Regions from separate parts of the Homo sapiens genome. Here region 1 is linked to region 2. The links are contacts of gene promoters, found by promoter capture Hi-C in blood cells and fetal thymus (Javierre and others, 2016). All regions are on one chromosome and are shown on one strand. The core of a region is centred on a gene start or on the middle of the fragment in contact, and the rest is flanking DNA. Distances in the headings are between cores, read along the strand shown. Region 1 overlaps ATE1 (arginyltransferase 1). Region 2 holds the start of EDRF1 (erythroid differentiation regulatory factor 1).

Region 1 (3,536 bases), core at 1-2,500, 3.8 Mb after region 2:
GAGTGTGGAGTGCAATGGCTCGATCTCGAGTCACTGCAACCTCCGCCTCCTGGGTTCAAGCGATTCTCCTGCCTCAGCCTCCCAAGTAGCTGGGATTACAGGCATGTGCCACCATTCCCGGCTAATTTTGTGTTTTTAGTAGAGATGGGGTTTCACCATGTTGGCCAGGCTGGTCTCAAACTCCTGACCTCAGATGATCTGCCCATCTTGGCCTCCAAAAGTGCTGGGATTACAGGCGTGAGCCACTGTGCCCAGCTGAGTTACTTTCAGTTCTTACACTTAGAAGGAATATTGTTACATACTTTTCTCCAATTTTTGATGCTCAAGACTGTACTGTAAATATATACCTGTATATAAATCAGGAGAACTAATAAGCACAAAACATTTTGCTAAGTTTTCTGAAGAGACCAGCATGTTAAATCATTGGGGATATTTATTAAAGTTTGAAGGTCTGATGCAGTCTGATTGCAGTGAGGACTTAAATTTATGCTGTCATAGAGACTATTGACTAATCCTCAAATAAATATAATTAACTTCGATGTGTTTTTTTGAATGAAAATATATATAGTGTCATTCTTTATTTGTGCTGTGTGTATGCCCAACTAACAGCTGTGAAGTATGTACAAACTTTTCATTTATCCAATATGAGTGTTTTGGAATTTTAACCTAAACACTCCTATTTTTTTTTTTTTTTTTGAGATGGAGTCTCACTCTGTCGCCAGGGCTGGAGTGCAGTGGCGTGATCTTGGCTCACTGCAACCTCCGCCTCCCGAGTTCATGTGATTCTCCTGCTGCAGCCTCTTGAGTAGCTGGGATTACAGGCGCCCGCCACTATGCCCAGCTAAATTTTTGTATTTTTAGTAGAGATGGGGTTTCACCATGTTGGCCAGGCTGGTCTTGAACTCCTGACCTTGTGATTTGCCCGCCTTGGCCTCCCAGAGTGCTGGGATTACAGGCATGAGCCACCGTGCCCGGACACACACTCCTATTTTTAAACCTCACACTTTGAATTTAAAAAAGAAAAAAGGTTACCCTGCCGTAATTAACACACTACTTATTTTTTCAGGCATGTGGGCACATTCCATGACAGTACAGGATTATCAGGATCTCATAGACCGAGGATGGCGAAGGTAAAGCTTCCAGATACAAAGAGACTTCCTACTGTTACTCAGGTTCTTGAAAAATACAGCATGCCTTTGAAATGCTTTCCTGTTGGAAAGAGGTTTAAGAAAAATTTTTATTATATTCTTTTATGTAGTGATTTTTTGTCTCCTTTTTAAAAAACTTTGTTAGGAAAATGTCAAATATCTATAAAAGCAGAGAGTACATTAGAATGAACCTCAAGTACCTATCACTAAGCTTCAGCAGTTATTAACGTTCTGCCAATCATGTTTGATTCTCCTGCTCCACCTTTTAATATTTAACAGCAAATTACATCAGTAGGTTATTATGACATTTATCCTATCAATAGATAGGCAATAAGTATGTATCTCTAAGAGAGAGGTCTTTTTTTCTTTTTAACTTATCCACAATGCTGTATCACACCTTACAAAATTAATAAAAATTCTTTGATGTTACCTGTTACCTACTTTTTATTAGATTTTCCAGATTGTCTCAAAAATGTCTTCTTTAACAGTTTATTTGGATAAGGATTTCCTTAAAGTCCACACATGGCCTGTTTTGAGTAGTTATTTTTATGTGGATGATTTTTAAGTAACTCTTAGGTAAAGTTCCTTGTGTAAATATAAGTAATATTAAATACTGTACGCTAATACTTGCCAAAGACGTGGGATTGGGAGCACCAGCTGAAATATCACAACTTTCCTTAAACTTAATGAGATTCAAAAGGTAGACATAGGTCAGATTTTAAAGGACTTCACATGCCATGATAAGGAACTTTTTTTTTTAGAGACATGGTCTCGCTCTGTTGCCCAGGCTAGAGTCGCTCTCTTGCCCAGGCTAGAGTACAGTGCCATCATCATAGCTCACTGTAACCCCAAATTCCCACACTCAAGTGATCCTCTTGCCTCAGCCTCTGCAGTGGCTAGGACTACAGGTGTGCATCACAACACCTGGCTAATTTTTCAGTTTTTTGTAAGATCTTGGCTATGTTGCCCGTGCTGGTCTCGAACATCTGGTTGCAAGTGTTCTTCCAGCTTAGCTTTTCAAAGTGTTGGGATTATAGGTATGAACCACCATGCCTGGCCAGAACTTTTTAGAAGGCAGTCATGGAAGGATTTTATGGTAAGAGAGAAATGTGAAGGAATTTGTTTTAGAAAAGATTGTTCAGATGGCTGAGAGGTATTTGAGGGGGGGTCATAGAGGCAGGAAGATGAGTTCAAAGGTTATTGCGCTATCCAGATGTGCGATGATGAGGACTGTCACCTTAGTGGCAATGGTGATAGAGAAGAGGGGACAATTTAGGATAGGGTTTAAAATGAAGGAAAGCTTGCTAATAGGATATAGAGGTGAATTCCAGGGAGGAGTTTAAAATGACTCCCAGGTCTCTGACTTGAGAACAGAATGAACAGTTCTGTTAGTACCATAGACCTGGAATGCATGGAAAGAAGCGGGTTAGTTTTGGGGTACTCCGTGCTGGTGCATGTGGAATACCCAAGTGTGGTTGTCACAGGCATCACATACATGAGTCCCACAGCATCGTGGGCATTTCTCTCATTGCCCTTGTGGTATTGGGGATTGGTGGCAGGTGAAGGCAGAGCAGGGGTGGCAGATGCTGGTGAGAGGGGAACTGAGATGATTGGCCGTGGGGTACACAAGTAAAGCTTTAGGAAATAAAAGGCAGGGTTCTAAACTTTGCTACACGCACTTTGAAGATTATTTGGCTTATGAAGAGTAATTAAACCTACATGCATTTCTACAATGTTGATTAGATTTTTAACCTTAATTTAATGCTCCTGTGCTAGGCTGTTTTGGTGCAAGTGAAAAATATATAAGACATTAACAAACTATTTTTATAATTTTAGAAGTGGAAAATATGTGTACAAACCTGTCATGAATCAAACATGTTGTCCTCAGTACACAATAAGGTAAGAATTTTAATTAGTAGAAAGAGGATTTATAGTATGAAGATTGTGTATAATATTTTAGTAGTCTCTTGTGCTTTTTTAATGTTTATTTCCGCTCTAGGTAGATGTCCTTTAAAAGGAAAAGTAAATGAGTTATGTCTTTTCTTCATACTGATGCTGTATTTATGTGCTGATCAGTAGGTTTTAGTAATATTGTTTGATTGGTTCAGATATAAATATGTGAAAAAAATACCCTCTTAATTTAGCAATCTTGTCAATGAATGCCATGAAATATTGGGAAAATGTTGGTAAATATTCACATTACTTTTGGATATTAAATATTATAGGACTTAGCTTAGAATTTTCTGCATTCTGGTGTATTGCTTGACACAGTGCTTGTGTTCAAGCAATGCTACAGGCTCCTATAAATTACTTGGTAGGTTCACGTTCTCATGTTGTGGGATTCAGGAGGACAAGAGAGACCTCGGGTTAAAACAGGAGAAACTTTAT
Region 2 (3,122 bases), core at 87-2,586:
TTTACTTAGTTCTTTTACACCAACTTCAAAGAAAAAAGATGAGTCAAGGAGTATGATGGTTATGGTTATCAGCTAGAAAATGGACCACCCACATCTCTTTTAAAATGTATTCATGTAAAGTGGAGAAGCAGAAACCAAGGAGACTCAATGGTATCATGTTAACTAGATGCAAACTTTAGTAAAGCCTATTTTCAGTATTAAAGATGTATTTTAATTCTTTTTTTTTTTTTTTTTGAGACGCAGTCTTGCTTTGTCGCCCAGGCTAGGGTGCAGTGGAGCAATCATGGCTCACTGCAACCTCGGCTTCTGGGGTTTACGCCATTCTCCTGCCTCAGCCTCCCTAGTAGCTGGAATTACAGGCGTGCACTACCACGTCCGGCTAATTTTTGTATTTTTAGTAGAGACAGGGTTTTGCCATGTTGGCCAGGCTGGTCTCGAACTCCCCGACCTCAGGTGATCCACCCACCTCGGCCTCCCAAAGTGCTAGGATTACAGGCGTGAGCCACCGCGCCCGGCCAAAGATGTATTTTAATTTTAATAACACATCATTCATAAAATAGTCTGGTAGAACATTTGGGCTTTTTGTTTTAATGCAAATATTTAGTAATCGATGCATCGGTTCATGCATGCATGCATGGTTCAAATACTCTTGAGTCTCTAACTTCATAGAAAGGCATTGGGGGTTCGTTCCTCACAGCCTGCACTTGCACACTCCCAAAGCAAGTTCGGCGTCTGGGTTCAATATTCTAACCTTTCACGCAGTACCTCTTCTGCATGGCAAACATTTTACACCCTTTGTGAATTAGTTCGGTCTCATTCTCGGCGAGTCACTACCTGGCACCGTTTCTTCCCTCCTGCTTTGCACGACTGTGCCACGTTTTGGAACGACATATTTACATGTACCCTCCTTGAGAGGAAAGATCGTATCTAATTCACCTGTCGGCTACCAGAACTGCTTTTAATACGAATACCTGCCGACTGGAGCATGGACTTCAACTCCCTGTTTTGGGGGTGTCAGGGAAACATGGAGAAGCCTCCAGAATCTGCCGGGAACCGTGGCATCCCTCCCCGGTGGAGCGGGTCCTCCGCTCCCACATCCCTGGCAGGTCCCCCTCCGCGGAGGACTCACCTGTGCAGAAGATTCCTCGGATTCTCCCTGGGACAGGAGGCTGAGCCCTCCTCGAGCGGCGGCCCCGGCCGGCGGACCCTCGGCTCCGGCCTCCTTGGCATCCCCCATCACTTCGATCCAGGGCAGGCGATACGACGGGGGAGCGGAGGAGCAGCAGCAGCAACGCAGGCCCAAAGCAGGGTAAGCGCCAGAGACGCTCCGCGGACCGCACTTCCGGTCTCTGCCAGGAAGAAGTAGCTGTGACTCGCCATTAAATCTCGCGATCTTTGTCCCGAAGGCCCGGCCCCGCCTCCCGCTGCGGGTGCCACCTTCGCGGCCAGGGCGGGAATTGTAGTGCGCCTGCGCTTGTCCGAACCTCTTCGGGAGACTACTTCTCGCGGTATCTGACTCCTAGGCTCCGCCCTCTGCACGCCGCTCACGGTATCTGACGCTCAGGCTCCGCCCCCTGCATGTCTTTGTTGGCAAACAGTTCTGGGGGTCGTCCGATCCTGCAGGTAGTGTCCGCGTGGGAGGGGAGGTGCAGCCGTCAGCGCTGCCGGCGGCTCCCGTTACGTGAATTAGTGAGAGGTTCAAACTTCTTCCCCAGGCTTCAGTGTCACATCTTTTCACACGGGCACCCCGAGGGCCCGGACTGGAAAGGCGAGCCAGCCATCTCGAGACTGGGCGCTCCTGCCCGCCTTTTAGTGCCCATGTGGCCCCATCCTGGGTGTGGGAGCGGCGGGGCTTCCGGGGAGGGCGCTGGGACGCGCGGACGAGGCCCTCCCCGTTTAGGGAATGGGTGGCTTTCGGAGTCTTCTGGGGGCCCGGCATGCCCGCTGCTTGCGGGGCGTCCCAGGTGGTGCAGGACCCGTGAGACGCTGAACCTGGGGCCTCGTAACGCCTAGGTTTCCATTCGGGCGCTCTGGATGGGTCCGAGACTCGGCATTTCTCACAGGTTCCCAGGAAACGATGCCAGCGCTTTGAGTAGCGAAGAGGTGGAGAAATAGCCCGGGCCGTTTGCAAGCTTTGAAGGTCCAGGCTCTCTTTCACACTCCTCAGTGTCATCTCAAACTGTCAAACGCAGCCACATCCGTTATACAATACATGTTTTGTAGTAAAAGTGTTTTGTTGTGCCGTAAGATACAGAAAGTGTTTTTAAAAATTAACTTGGCTCTTGCAATTTGGCTGTCTCAATTTGTAATTCACGTTTGGCTCTTACAACTCACTGTCCTGTCCGTTTTCAGGAATGCTCCTGATGAGTAAGCATTCAACTCACAAATTGCTTTCAAATGTAACAAAACAATTTTATGAATTAAATTTAACAGGCCGGGCGCGGTGGCTCACGCCTTTAATCCCTGCACTTTGGGAGGCCGAGGTGGGCAGATTGCCTGAGGTCAGGAGATCGAGACCAGCCTGACGAACAGGGTGAAACCCCATCTCTACTAAAAATACAAAAATTAGCCAGATGTGGTGGTGGGCGCCTGTAATCCCAGCTACTAGGGAGGCTGAGGCAGGAGAATCGCTTGAACCTGGGAGGCAGAGGTTGCAGTGAGCAGAGATGGCAACACTGCGCTCCAGCCTGGGCGATAGTGAGACTCTGTCTTAAAAAAATAATAATAGTGAATTAAATTTAACAGTTAATTTGATATAATAGTGTATTTTGTAGACATTTACTTCAACATGTATTGATTTTGATTTTTATCATTTCATTTGAATATTGCAGCCAATAATTCTTTTTTGGTTTTTGCAAGTTATGCATTGTTTTTTATGGTGAAAAGTTGAACATAATATCTAACACTAGGAGGAGGATAGTCAAATTTGGTTTTGGTAGAAAATAAACCCTGTGCAACCATAAACTTGTTTTTCAGGAATATTTAAGAACATTTAAATTGCATATCATATAATGTTAAGTGATAAGTGAAATTTTAAAAAGCCAATATGCAGCCTAGCGCGGTGGCTCACGCCTGTAATCCCAGCACTTTGGGAGGCAGATGCGGGTGGATCACGAGGTCAG

The links. Contacts are between HindIII fragments. The CHiCAGO score rates a contact against its expected background, and 5 or more counts as called.
Region 1: a fragment that was not itself captured here is called in contact with the fragment with the promoter of EDRF1 in region 2 in 2 of 17 cell types (total CD8 T cells and total B cells); the score reaches 8.3 in total CD8 T cells.

The regions. Positions count from the first base shown.
Region 1 is chr10:121,921,860-121,925,395 of GRCh38, reverse strand. It overlaps ATE1 (arginyltransferase 1), which reads left to right. Exons shown (of 12, transcript NM_001001976.3): 2 at 1,067-1,130; 3 at 2,985-3,047. Among named protein-coding and RNA genes, the nearest start is that of ATE1, 4.4 kb to the left of the region's middle. The HindIII fragment of the contact is 223 bases long and covers 1,139-1,361 here.
Region 2 is chr10:125,717,923-125,721,044 of GRCh38, reverse strand. It overlaps EDRF1 (erythroid differentiation regulatory factor 1), which reads right to left and starts at 1,336. Exons shown (of 25, transcript NM_001202438.2): 1 at 1,130-1,336. The coding sequence starts at 1,237. EDRF1-DT (EDRF1 divergent transcript) reads left to right here and starts at 1,552. Exons shown (of 5, transcript NR_033847.1): 1 at 1,552-1,623. RefSeq lists enhancers at 453-1,435, 1,551-1,630, 2,111-2,220. The HindIII fragment of the contact is 5,171 bases long and covers 1-2,134 here.